4 separate regions of the Homo sapiens genome follow, and all the other regions are linked to region 4. Evidence: promoter capture Hi-C in human tissues and cell types (Jung and others, 2019). All regions are on one chromosome and are shown on one strand. Each heading gives the region's core, a stretch centred on a gene start or on the middle of the fragment in contact. The rest is flanking DNA. Distances are from core to core; before and after follow the strand shown. Region 1 has its middle 6.3 kb from the start of DMRTB1. Region 2 has its middle 26 kb from the start of DMRTB1. Region 3 overlaps CPT2 (carnitine palmitoyltransferase 2). Region 4 holds the start of LRP8 (LDL receptor related protein 8).

Region 1 (2,700 bases), core at 85-2,584, 130 kb before region 4:
GTCAATATTTATTGAGTGCCAACCATGTGCTAAGCATAAGGCATGCAGAAGTTAAGTAAAAAGACAGGATCCTTGCCTTTAGGCCTACATTCTAGCTGGCAATCCAATTACTTGGTGAACAAGTAATTCCAGAGTAATAAAAGTCAGGTTTTCAGAACCCATATGGAATCCTAAACTGGCTTGAGAAATCAAAAAGACTTCCCTGAGGGGCTGATTTCTAAGCTGATGCCTAAAGGGTTAGTAGCCAGCCACAAAAGCAGAAGTGTGTCCCACATGCTCAGTGGCCTACAGTGTGGCTGTAGTGCAGCAAGGTTGAGACACTGGCGAGAAATGAGGTGGAAAAGTAAGTTGCAGCCAGGCTGTGGAAGGAGTCCTTGAGGGAAATTGACCAAGGAGAAGAGGAAATCACACGGCAGAGCCAGGCAAAACAGTAAGTAATAAGCACTCGTGCAGGTATTGCAAGATTCAAATAGAGTTGAGTGGGGTTTTCCTTGAGGTGGTTGTTCCAGGTGGGGCACACATTTGAGGCTAGCCATGGCCCAAACTAGCACTGGGCCAGACAGGGTTGCTCCTTCTAACCCTGGGACACCATTAACAGATTCATCTGACCTCTCCTAGGAATCTTAGAGAAGCGAGGCACAAAATAGTAATGGATGGAAGACAAAGGAGTGAGAGAAAAGAAGAGCATGAGGCAGTCAAACAGACCAAAGCTGTTGGAGAGGCTGTGAAGATTAAGACTGGAACAAGCAATTCTGTGGAGCAAAGGAAAAGTACACCATCCTGGCGGAGAGGGCATGCTCCAAGTGCTACTCTTCAACCCAATAGTACTGACCTTTGTTCTGTCTTGTTTTTACTTGCTAATTGGATGAACAAACATTTTTTGACACCCACAGAAACTTTCTTCCCTCCCTTCCTTCCTTCTTCTTCTTTTTTTTTTTTTTTTTTTTTTTTTTTTGCAGCAGGGTCTCACTCTATTACCTAGGCTGGAGTGCAGTGGCGCGAGCATAGCTCACTACACCCTCAAACTCCCAGCTCAAGTAATCCTCCCGCCTTGGCCTCCCAAAGTGCTGGGATTATAGGCATGAGCCACTGTGCTCAGCCCACAGAAACTTTCATAATATGTATATGTAGCTGATTACATGTATTTTTGATAGTACTATCAAATTTCTATAAATTTCAATTTTTTTTTTCTGAAAATACGAGAGGCACACGTCCCTATAAACTACATTGCTAATAGGGAATAATATAACCTTTAATATCTCTGTCCTGTGGTAAAATGCAAACTCAATTTAACACAAGAGGCATGAATTGAATGCCTACCATATACAAGGTACTGTTCTCTGGTAAAAGCAGTCAAAAAGAGCAAAGGAAAAAGAAAATTAAATTGAATCTTCTTTTTTCTGTGTATGTTCCTTGTCTAATTTCTTAGAAAACAGTAACTATTTATCGAAAAACAAAAAACCAGCATCTTTTTCCTGAGTTATGCTTCTATGAGAAAGGCAAACAGATATCAATAATTTATCTTTCGAGTAACCTTTCTAAACATTTTATGTCAGAGAGTCAGTACAAGTTCGGTCCATTTTGTAACTGAAAACAGATGGCAAGTAATACTATAAAGACAGGCAAGCTGGGTGAGAACATGATCATTAGTTATTAGCTGTGTTAACCTTAGCTAAATTATTTAACTTCTTTGAGCCTCAGTTGCAATAGTAATATTTGTAAAACGTGTTGCAAATCCCAAAGTGTGGCACAATATCCCATTTAGTGATATTGTTATTTAATGAATGCTTACAACTTTGCAGACATGGCCTCATTTAAACCACAGAACAACATGTATAAGGTAGGTAATTTTATTGTGTCCATTTGACAAATAACATTGAAGCTTAAAGTTCAGAAATATTCTTACCCAAGGTACATAGGAAGTGACAGAAACACATGTGAATAGCCTCCAAGTCTGAACTCCTAAGTACTATGCCATATTGCCACCATTTAGTTATTTCCTTTACTTTAACTACAAGGTGAGATGCCTGACTCTTGTAGGATTGATGAGATAATACATTTGAATAGCCCAGCACAGGTCTGGTATCTGGCACATGGTTAGCATGCATTACATAGTATCAAGGAGGAAGAAGGGACAAAGGGAAGGGGGGTGAGAGATAAGTAGTATTTCTGACTGACTCCAAGCCACCTCCAATCACAGGATTTGATTTAGCTACACAGTGGCATCAGGCTCTCCAAGCATACATTAAACACCAGCTGTCCAATACTATACCTATTATTTACTGTGGCTATTGAGCACTTAAAATGTGCCCAGTTAAATTTAAGATGTTCTGAAAGTATAAAATACACACCAGATTTTAATGACATAGTATGAAGAAAAGAATGCAAAATATCTCAATAATTTTATATATATTATATATTGAAATAATATTTTGGATATATTGAAGTAATATTTTGGATATATTGAATTAAATAATATTTTGATGTGGCTTTTTACTCTTTTAATGTTGCTACCAGAAAATCTTAAATTATATGTATGATCTTTCATTATATTTCTATTGGGCAGCAGTGCACAAGAGATTTGTGTGCTCAGTCCTTCTACTTCTGAAGACCAAGTTTTCCACAGTAGCTTATGTTCAAGGTGTTACATCATCTTCAGGTAGAGTGTACCACGTTCATACACCCCTCCATCATGGTGGT
Region 2 (2,700 bases), core at 3-2,502, 110 kb before region 4:
CATTCCTTGGCCCAGTGGCCAGATTTCTGGCACTTGAAGCAAGATCCTGGGGGAGGAGGTCCTGGAGGAATGCCTGGCTGCTATGGTTTAGGTTTTTGAAGTTCTTGTGTGCTGGAAATGTGGCTGGGGTTTGTCTTACAGTGGAGGCAAGGAATTGCAACTCAGAAATACGTGGCCACTTGGCTGCCTCTATTATTGTACACCTTGAAGGCGAGGTTAATTAAGTCCTGTTGTGGGGTTTGAGGGCCAGAATCTTAATTTTTGGAGCTTTTTCTAATGTCAGGAGTGGATTGGGTAATAAAATGCATATTGAGAATAAGACGGCCTTCTGGCCCCTCTGTGTCTAGGGCAGTAAAGCGTCTAAGGGTTGTTGCCAAATGGGCCATGAACTGGGCTGGGTTTTTATACTTGATGAAAAAGAGCCTAAACGCTAACTGATTTGGGAGAGGTTGGCTAAAGAAAAAGGAGCATTAACCTTGACTATGCCTTCAGCTCCAGCCACTTCTCTAAGAGGAAATTGTTGGGCAGGTGGGGGAGGGCAAGTTGTGGAACAAAATTGTAAGCCAGACTGGGTATGAGGAGGGGAGGTGATAGAAGGATTACAGGGTGGGGGAGTGGAGGCTGAGGAAGAATTGGGACCTGGCTCGGCCTGGCGAGGAGCAGCCTGGGGTGGAGGGGAGAGGTTAGGTGGGTCTGTAGAAAAGGAAGATTCAAAGGACTCAGAGCTTGGGGTGGAGACTGAAGGAACAGACGGGAGAAAAACAAGAAAGATTTGGGACAGTCACATTGGGAGCAGAGACTAGGGAGGGACCAATGTATAAAAGAATGCCTGGATATCAGGCACCTCAGACCATTTGCCCATTTTTTGAAAAAAATTATCTAGATCTTGTAGGATGGAGAAAATCGAAAGTGCCATTTTCTGACTATGTGGAGCCATTACCAAGTTTGTATTGGGGCCAAGCAGTGTTGCAGAAGAAAATAAGACGCTTAGGTTTTAGATCAGGTGGGAGTTGAAGAGGTTTTAAGTTTTTTAGAACAAAGGCCAAGGGAGAAGAAGGAGGAATGGAGGGCAGAAGGTTGCCCATAGTAAAAGGGTAAGTTTAGAGAAAAGAGAGGGTAGAGACACAGAGGGCGGGGGGTGGTACTTGCCACCAAGGTGAAGGATCAAGGCAGGCATCCCCATGGTGATCAGACACCTCTGAAATGTGGGTGAATAATCAGGCAGGCGTCCCCGCAGTGATTAAACACCAAGGGAAGACTGTCTTCCCGAGTCTGTGACCAGCGCTGGAGTTTTGAGTTCACAGATAAAATGCATCTCCTCTGTCTCTACCAGAAAGGGGAAAAGGAACCAAAATTAAGGAAGGGAGAGATTGAAGGGTGGAGGGATAGTGAGAGAGGTTGGAGAAGGGAGTGAAACGACCGCTTACCCGATCTGAAATTGGTGAGATGTTCCTTGGGCTGGTTGGTCTGAGGACCTGAGGTCATAGGTAGATCTCCTCACCGAGTGAGGGCAAGGATGGGGGACTGGTCTCTCGAAGGAGTCCTCCTGTCCTGGGTCTTCAGCACAAAATGTCAAGTGCATCCGTGTGAAGAGAGTCCACCAACAGGATTTGTGTGAGCAATAAAGCTTTTTAATCACCTGGTGCAGGTGGGCTGAGTCTGAAAAAGGAGTCAGCCCGCCTGCACCCTGGTGATTAAAAAGCTTTATTGTTCACACAAAGCCTGTTGTGGACTCTCTTCACATGGACACGCTTGACAATCACAATTCTTGTTTCTCTATAAAACTAAGACTCAGATGCTAGATAACTTGCTCAAAGTCATGTAGCTAATGAGTGATATAGTCTGAATCAAAGTCCACATGTTCTTCATTACTCCAGCTCAGCACCTTGATAGAACCAATGACTATCATTTTCTTAAATTGTTTTTTATAGTACCTTGAAATTATTTCTTAAAAAAATTTCAGGCTGGGTGCAGTGGTGCCGGCTTGTAATCCCTGCACTTTGCAAGCCTGAGGCAGATAGATCACTGGAGCCCAGGAGTTTGAGACCATCTTGGGCAACATGGCAAAACCCTGTCTCTACCAAAAAAAAAAAAAAAAAAAAAAAAAATTAGCCAGGCATCGTGGTGCACGGCTGTAGTCCCAGTTACTCAGAAGGCTGAGGTGGCTGACGTGGGAGGATCCCCCATCTCAAAAAAAAAAATTCTATTTATATGTACTGTAAAGCTTTCCTCATTTTGTACCAATGAGGAGTTTGCAGTGTGTCTCAATTGTGGAAAACCTATGGCAAAATTGTCTAGAAATAAACTGCAAAATAGTCAATATTTAATTTAATATTTAAGTCATTTGCTCACCAGGTCAGTGCCTCAGTTCTAACTTGAAGGGACTGATCATAAATGCAGCACTTTTGCTTGTGTGTGTGTGTGTGTGTGTGTGTGTGGTATTGCAGCTTCAACGAGAGGCTTTATCACAATTTTTTCCTCTAATCTTAGTTCCTACAGCTAAGGAAGTGGTATCAGGCTATTTATCTTTTCCTCCAGGTGGTGATTAAAGTAGCTTTCTCAAGTATATGAAATTAATTTCATGATAGCTGTAATCTCATCCATTGATCTGTCCTTTGAGAAGTGAATAAAGGAAGTAGGTAAAATCTTGAAAAGCAAAGGTCATATTTACATGTTAATACCACATGATAAAGATGAGAA
Region 3 (2,845 bases), core at 268-2,767, 110 kb after region 4:
TGGGGAGGGGATGTATGAAGTGACAGCCAGAACTGTGCTACCTACAGATACCATGGACTAGACATTCTCCTTTCTAGCGGTAGTAATAATTGTCCCTTAAGTGGCTGCTGTATGCTTGGGCACCCATGCCATCATTTTTACATGTTACCACATTTAATTCTTATGGTAACCCTATGAATTTATTCATCCTGTTCTTCAGATGAGGAAGGAACTGAAGAGATTTTGCAACTTGCTCAGGGTCACACAGTAAGCAGTGGAGCTATAGTTTCAACCCAGATCTATCTGACTTGAGCTGGTGCTCATCCCCCTTTATTTGTGCATGTTTCACCTCACAACAAATCTGTGAGGTAGGCAGAAGAGCAAATACTTCATCCCCGTTTTATCAATAACTAAGGTCCAACCTGGGAAATGACATGCCCAGGAGCCTTCAGCAAACCAGGGCTAGTGGAAGGGATTACGCTGCCCCTGCTGCCTTCTGGTCCAAGGCTGTAATTCAGAGAAACCACCACTCTAGTTCTGAGGCAGCTGCCGGGTCCTGGAAGCTCAGCAGTTATTCCAAGACAGGTACTCATACTGCATCTCTGTCCTCCATCCCAGAAGTGTGAGAAGAGCCAGCAGCCTGGCCGGCCCTTACTTATAGCCCAATGCCTTCTTTTGCCAAGACTAACTGGTACCTTCTTGTGCCCTGCAGGCTGGGTTTGCTGCTGAAGGTGTGGAGTCAGGGACAGCCTTCAGTGACATTAATCTGCAGGAGAAGGTATGAGACTTGGGGGCTTTGGGAGGTACTGTAGGGCACCTGGTGGGAATTATTTTTTTGGTGGACAAGGCTCATCAATGGAAAGCCAACTCTGTATTTTTGTGCTTTTTGTTAGTGATTTTGCTGTTGAAATGGCCACAGGTATAGTGCTAAAGTGCTTTCTAATGTTCCTACGTATGAGAAAGCTATGATGCCCCTTACAGAGAGAATACGTGTTAGATAAGCTTTATTCAGGCATGAGCTATAGTGCTGCTGGCTGTGAGTTCATGAATCAACAATATATATTAAATAAGTTATCTTTAAACAGAAACACATAAAGCTAGATTATTGATTGGTTGATGAAAATGTGACCAGAGGCTCATAGGAACCTAACCCTGTATTTCCCCGGGGAGTATTCATTCAGTATTCCCTAATTCAGTGTTTGTGGTGGCTTTACTGCACCTAACTACCATGAAGAACAAGAAATAGTCTGTATTACTGGACATATTACTACCCTGCAGATAGAAAAGCCTTGTGCTCAAGCCTTGAAGGAAGGACAAAAACTTCATTTCATTTGCTCAGCACCTAATAACAGCAGCTAGCATCTACTGAGCTCTTACATGTGCCAGGCACTCACTATGCTGAGTGCTTTTATTTTATTTTATGTATTTTTTGAGACAATCTCACTCTGTCGCCCAGGCTGGAGTGCAGTGGTGCAATGTCAGCTCACTGCAACCTCTGCCTCCTGGGCTCAAGTGATCCTCCTACCTCAGCCTCCCAAGTAGCTGGGATTACAGGCGCCTGCCACCATTCCTGGCTATTTTTTGTATTTTTAGTAGAGACCGGGTTTCACCTTGTTGGCCAGGATGGTCTCGGACCCCTGACCTGAAATGATCCACCTGCCTTGGCCTCCCAAAGTGCTGGGATTACAGGCATGAGCCACCACGCCCGGCTGCTGAGTGCTTTTAAATGTGTTACCTCATTTGATTCTTTCAACATTCAATATGAACTCCATTGTCCTTTTTTTGTTTTTGTTTTTTTTAAATAGAAGACAGGACTCGGAGAAGGGACTCAGAGAAGTTAAGTGATTTGCCCACAGTCATACAACTGAAAGAGCTAGAATTCAGGCCTGAGCTATCTGGCTCTGTTCAGGGTCATACATGTTCATGATTATTTGAGTCAGAGCCTGAGCTGGGCCTTTTAAGTCCCAGTTTTCTGCTCTCCACATGGCTGCATTCTGCGTTGTGAGGCTAACAATGCCATTTTGTTTCCCAGGACTGGACTGACTATGATGAAAAGGCCCAGGAGTCTGTGGGAATCTATGAGGTCACCCACCAGTTTGTGAAGTGCTGATCCCTCTTCCTTCCCAGTTGCCCTTAAGAACTGAGAAAGGACAAAGTACTCTAAGCAGCAGAGCCCACAGAGGCTCGTTCCTTTGACCCTTGTCTCCTGGTGGCTATACGAAACCTTCACAATCTGCATGCTGGACTTTATTACAGCTTCCCAAGCCCCATCAATAAAGCCCCTGTTCACGCTGCACTGGTGCATGAAGGTGAAGTAAGGAGGCAGCTACTCCCTCCACAAATAAGAATTCGTGCAGCAGCAGTTCACTCCTTAGGAAAATGAAGAGTATTTTTAAGGAGATGGTATCTCCCCAGTCAAGGGCAAGTTTACAGAGATGAAACCGCGATCCCACCATCACTCAATGAGCCAGAAGCCAATGGTGACGTACTGTTACCTGAACTTACTGAACTTGCTGTTGGAAAGATCTTTGTGAGGATTAGGAATTAGGTTAAAAGAAATTAAGAACCATCTTCAAGCAAAAATTAAACTTTATTTCTGCTTAAACAATAAATACACCTGAGTTAGTTTTCCAAACCTTTCCTCCTGATTAAATGCCCTTAAAACTTAAATCTCTTGTTATCTTCAGTTGTGATCTAGTCCCAAGTGGAAATTACGTTTAGCTTTAAAACCATGAATTTAAAGCTCAAGCCTGTAGCTGGCTGCCTAGGCAGCTTATGATTAGTTTCACAGAATAGCACCCACTGGCTACACAGGCCCCAGTTTTTTTTTCTTTTTTGTTTTTTTGAGACAGTCTCGCTCTGTCGC
Region 4 (2,700 bases), core at 201-2,700:
GCACATATAGGTGAAAGGACGCCTGCATTTCGTTGTCTGTGTGCTAATGGTCTGTCTCCCCACAGGTCAGGGACCTCTCCGGGGCTGGCACCATGCCTGATTCACCTTGGTACCCGCAGGCCCAGCACAGGGTTGGCACAGAACAGGGCCTGAAATGCTTGCTGAATGACTGAATGAACAAGGGACAGGAGGGGTGATGATGGCAGGAGCACCGTGCCGGGCTCTCTGGGGATCTAAGTCCCTTTCTGGTGGGGTGGCCACAGATATTGCCGCTGGGCTGCCCTTTGGGGGACTACGGCTCAGGAGGCTGCTGAGGAGACAGGGTGGTTTCCAGGCCAAGGGCTAACAGCACCTGCCCATCCGCGAGGGAGGTGAAGGGGCAAGAGGGGAGGGAGGGTGGACCTAACACTGGCTCTTGGCACCTGCAGGCCGGTTGTTTTGAGTGGCCAATGCCCTGGAATCTCATTCTCTAAAGAAGGTTGTGTGGGTTGGACCCGGCTCACAAGTCTGAGGCTGAAATCGAATCCCAGCTCGCTCTCCGCACCCATTCTCCCCAGTGTGGGTGAGGCGGGCTGCAGCCCTCCAGAGGAAGAGGTGCCTTCTCCTTCCTGCAGAAGACAGCAGGGGCGGACAGCGCGGGCCTAGGTGCGCGGCCCCTAGCGGCAGGGATGGCATCCCTTCCGTGCCCTCCCCTTCCCCCCCGCCCGGCCCGCCCCACAGACCTCGTCTTTCTCCATCACAGCGAGGATTCCTTGTCTTCCCTGCGGGCCCCCCCTGGTTGCCCCTCTGACTAGGGGCCTGGAGCGTACTTAACGACGATGAATAGTCTGTGCACCAGGCCCAATCCACCTGCCTCACGTCCCCATGATCACATGAGCGTGCAACATGCACAGATGCACATGGCACGGAAACCAAACCAGCCACAGGGATTTATAATATCCCAGCCGGAGCCCATGACAGGTGCAGGGGTCCAGCCCTGCGCCCCCAGCTTCTCCCTGCTCATCCACATCTTGGGATCTCACCCCTATCCCTCCCTCCCCCGCCCCACGCGCACACTGCACAGGCCTGTTCGTCCTGTAACATCATTTCCCCTCCCGCCCAGGCTCACTCCTAGACATCCCTCAGCCTCTGATCCGCCTGTCACCTCCTCCAGGAAGCCTCTGCTGCTTCCTCTGGACCTGCTACCTCCGTGGTGAGGGGCTCGCCTGGCCCATCCCTGCGTCTGCAGAGCCCAGCACTCAGGCGAGCCCAGAGCAGGGCCGTGGAGCGCCCGCTGAGAGAAGAGTGGACGAAAGACAGGAGGGAGGAGGGCGAGGAGGCGGCGGCAGGGGGAGCGTGGGGCGGAGGCGGCAGCGGGAGGGAGCGCGCGCGCTGGCGGCGGCCGCCCAGGGCCGGGGCCGCGCGCCCAGCCTGAGCCCGCCCCGCCGCCGAGCGTCACCGAACCTGCTTGAAATGCAGCCGAGGAGCCGGGGCGGGCGGCAGCGGCGGCGGCGGCGGCGGCGGGGGCAGCGGCAACCCCGGCGCCGCGGCAAGGACTCGGAGGGCTGAGACGCGGCGGCGGCGGCGCGGGGAGCGCGGGGCGCGGCGGCCGGAGCCCCGGGCCCGCCATGGGCCTCCCCGAGCCGGGCCCTCTCCGGCTTCTGGCGCTGCTGCTGCTGCTGCTGCTGCTGCTGCTGCTGCAGCTCCAGCATCTTGCGGCGGCAGCGGCTGATCCGCTGCTCGGCGGCCAAGGTGCGTGCAGCCGGTCTCTGACTCGGCTCTGCTCCGCCCTAGCCACCAACAAAGCGCGGCCGGGAGGCCGGAGCGGGGAGGGGTCCAGAACCCGGGGCTATCGGGGGCTCCCGGGCGGACAGGCTCCACGCGAAGCGGCTATTCCTGAATTTGCCCTCGGCCCCCCGCCCCCGCGGGCCTCGGTGTTGAGGGCTCTGCCCTCTGGGCAGCGGATCTTGGGGGAGGGGTGCAGGGGGGCTTGGCCAGCGGGGAACTTTGCCGGAGGGGCGGCCATTCATGGTTCCGGATGAGCTGTGTGATTCTCGCCGTTGGGGTTTATTTGACACGCGCGCTCCGCGGCGGTAATGAGCAGAGCCGGGCGGCTTCTCCGCTTGACAATGCGTTTCCGCAGACCCCTGCGCGCGGCGGAGAGAGAGGGGGCTGCCTGCCAGGGTGATGTGCCTGCGGCTCCCACTGCGCCTGGCGCGCGGGCGCGGGGACTCCCTATGGGCTGTATCTGAGCAGATCTCTGACTATGGGTCGCGTGTGCGGGTGAGTGCGTCTGAATGGAGGGTATACCCAGGTCGTGTGACACTTTAAGTAGGTGCCTGGTCTCGCCGTGCCACCGAGCGGCCCGACATCCACGGAACCCCTGCCATCGTGCCCTCCCTTTGGATGGAGTGTGCCTGAAGCCCCCGGGGTCTCCATAATCGCCCCCTTTCCTCCTCCCCAGCGGGTCCTTCCGGGTGGCCCGGACTGCATGGTGGGGAGTGGGGCCGAGTCCGCTGATCCAGCTCACGCTCCCTCCCCCTCGCAGGGCCGGCCAAGGATTGCGAAAAGGACCAATTCCAGTGCCGGAACGAGCGCTGCATCCCCTCTGTGTGGAGATGCGACGAGGACGATGACTGCTTAGACCACAGCGACGAGGACGACTGCCGTGAGTGGCGGGCCAGGGAGCTCAGACCCGGGGAGAGAAAAGGAACGGTGGGG

Evidence for each region. The method cuts DNA at HindIII sites, captures the fragments that hold promoters and counts their contacts. A contact is called where the count stands out against the background at its distance.
Region 1: a fragment that was not itself captured here is called in contact with the fragment with the promoter of LRP8 in region 4 in 5 of the 25 tissues and cell types used here (H1 embryonic stem cells, IMR-90 fibroblasts, mesendoderm cells and 2 more).
Region 2: a contact is called between a fragment that was not itself captured here and the fragment with the promoter of LRP8 in region 4, in 6 of the 25 tissues and cell types used here (H1 embryonic stem cells, IMR-90 fibroblasts, bladder and 3 more).
Region 3: a fragment that was not itself captured here is called in contact with the fragment with the promoter of LRP8 in region 4 in 2 of the 25 tissues and cell types used here (H1 embryonic stem cells and aorta).

Annotation. Positions count from the first base shown.
Region 1 is chr1:53,451,787-53,454,486 of GRCh38, reverse strand. No RefSeq gene overlaps it. Among named protein-coding and RNA genes, the nearest start is that of DMRTB1, 6.3 kb to the left of the region's middle. The HindIII fragment of the contact is 6,261 bases long and covers 1-2,700 here.
Region 2 is chr1:53,431,856-53,434,555 of GRCh38, reverse strand. No RefSeq gene overlaps it. Among named protein-coding and RNA genes, the nearest start is that of DMRTB1, 26 kb to the left of the region's middle. The HindIII fragment of the contact is 3,885 bases long and covers 1-2,700 here.
Region 3 is chr1:53,213,903-53,216,747 of GRCh38, reverse strand. It overlaps CPT2 (carnitine palmitoyltransferase 2), which reads right to left. Exons shown (of 5, transcript NM_000098.3): 5 at 2,551-2,845. It overlaps CZIB (CXXC motif containing zinc binding protein), which reads left to right. Exons shown (of 8, transcript NM_017887.3): 7 at 692-757; 8 at 2,012-2,649. The coding sequence ends at 2,089. Among named protein-coding and RNA genes, the nearest start is that of CZIB-DT, 5.0 kb to the left of the region's middle. The HindIII fragment of the contact is 7,476 bases long and covers 1-2,845 here.
Region 4 is chr1:53,326,820-53,329,519 of GRCh38, reverse strand. LRP8 (LDL receptor related protein 8) reads left to right here and starts at 1,450. Exons shown (of 19, transcript NM_004631.5): 1 at 1,450-1,731; 2 at 2,528-2,647. The coding sequence starts at 1,608. It overlaps LRP8-DT (LRP8 divergent transcript), which reads right to left and starts at 1,287. Exons shown (of 3, transcript NR_131923.1): 1 at 1,145-1,287. RefSeq lists enhancers at 1,014-1,243, 2,294-2,403 and silencers at 1,314-1,513, 1,584-1,733, 1,784-1,953, 2,469-2,700. The HindIII fragment of the contact is 17,458 bases long and covers 1-2,700 here.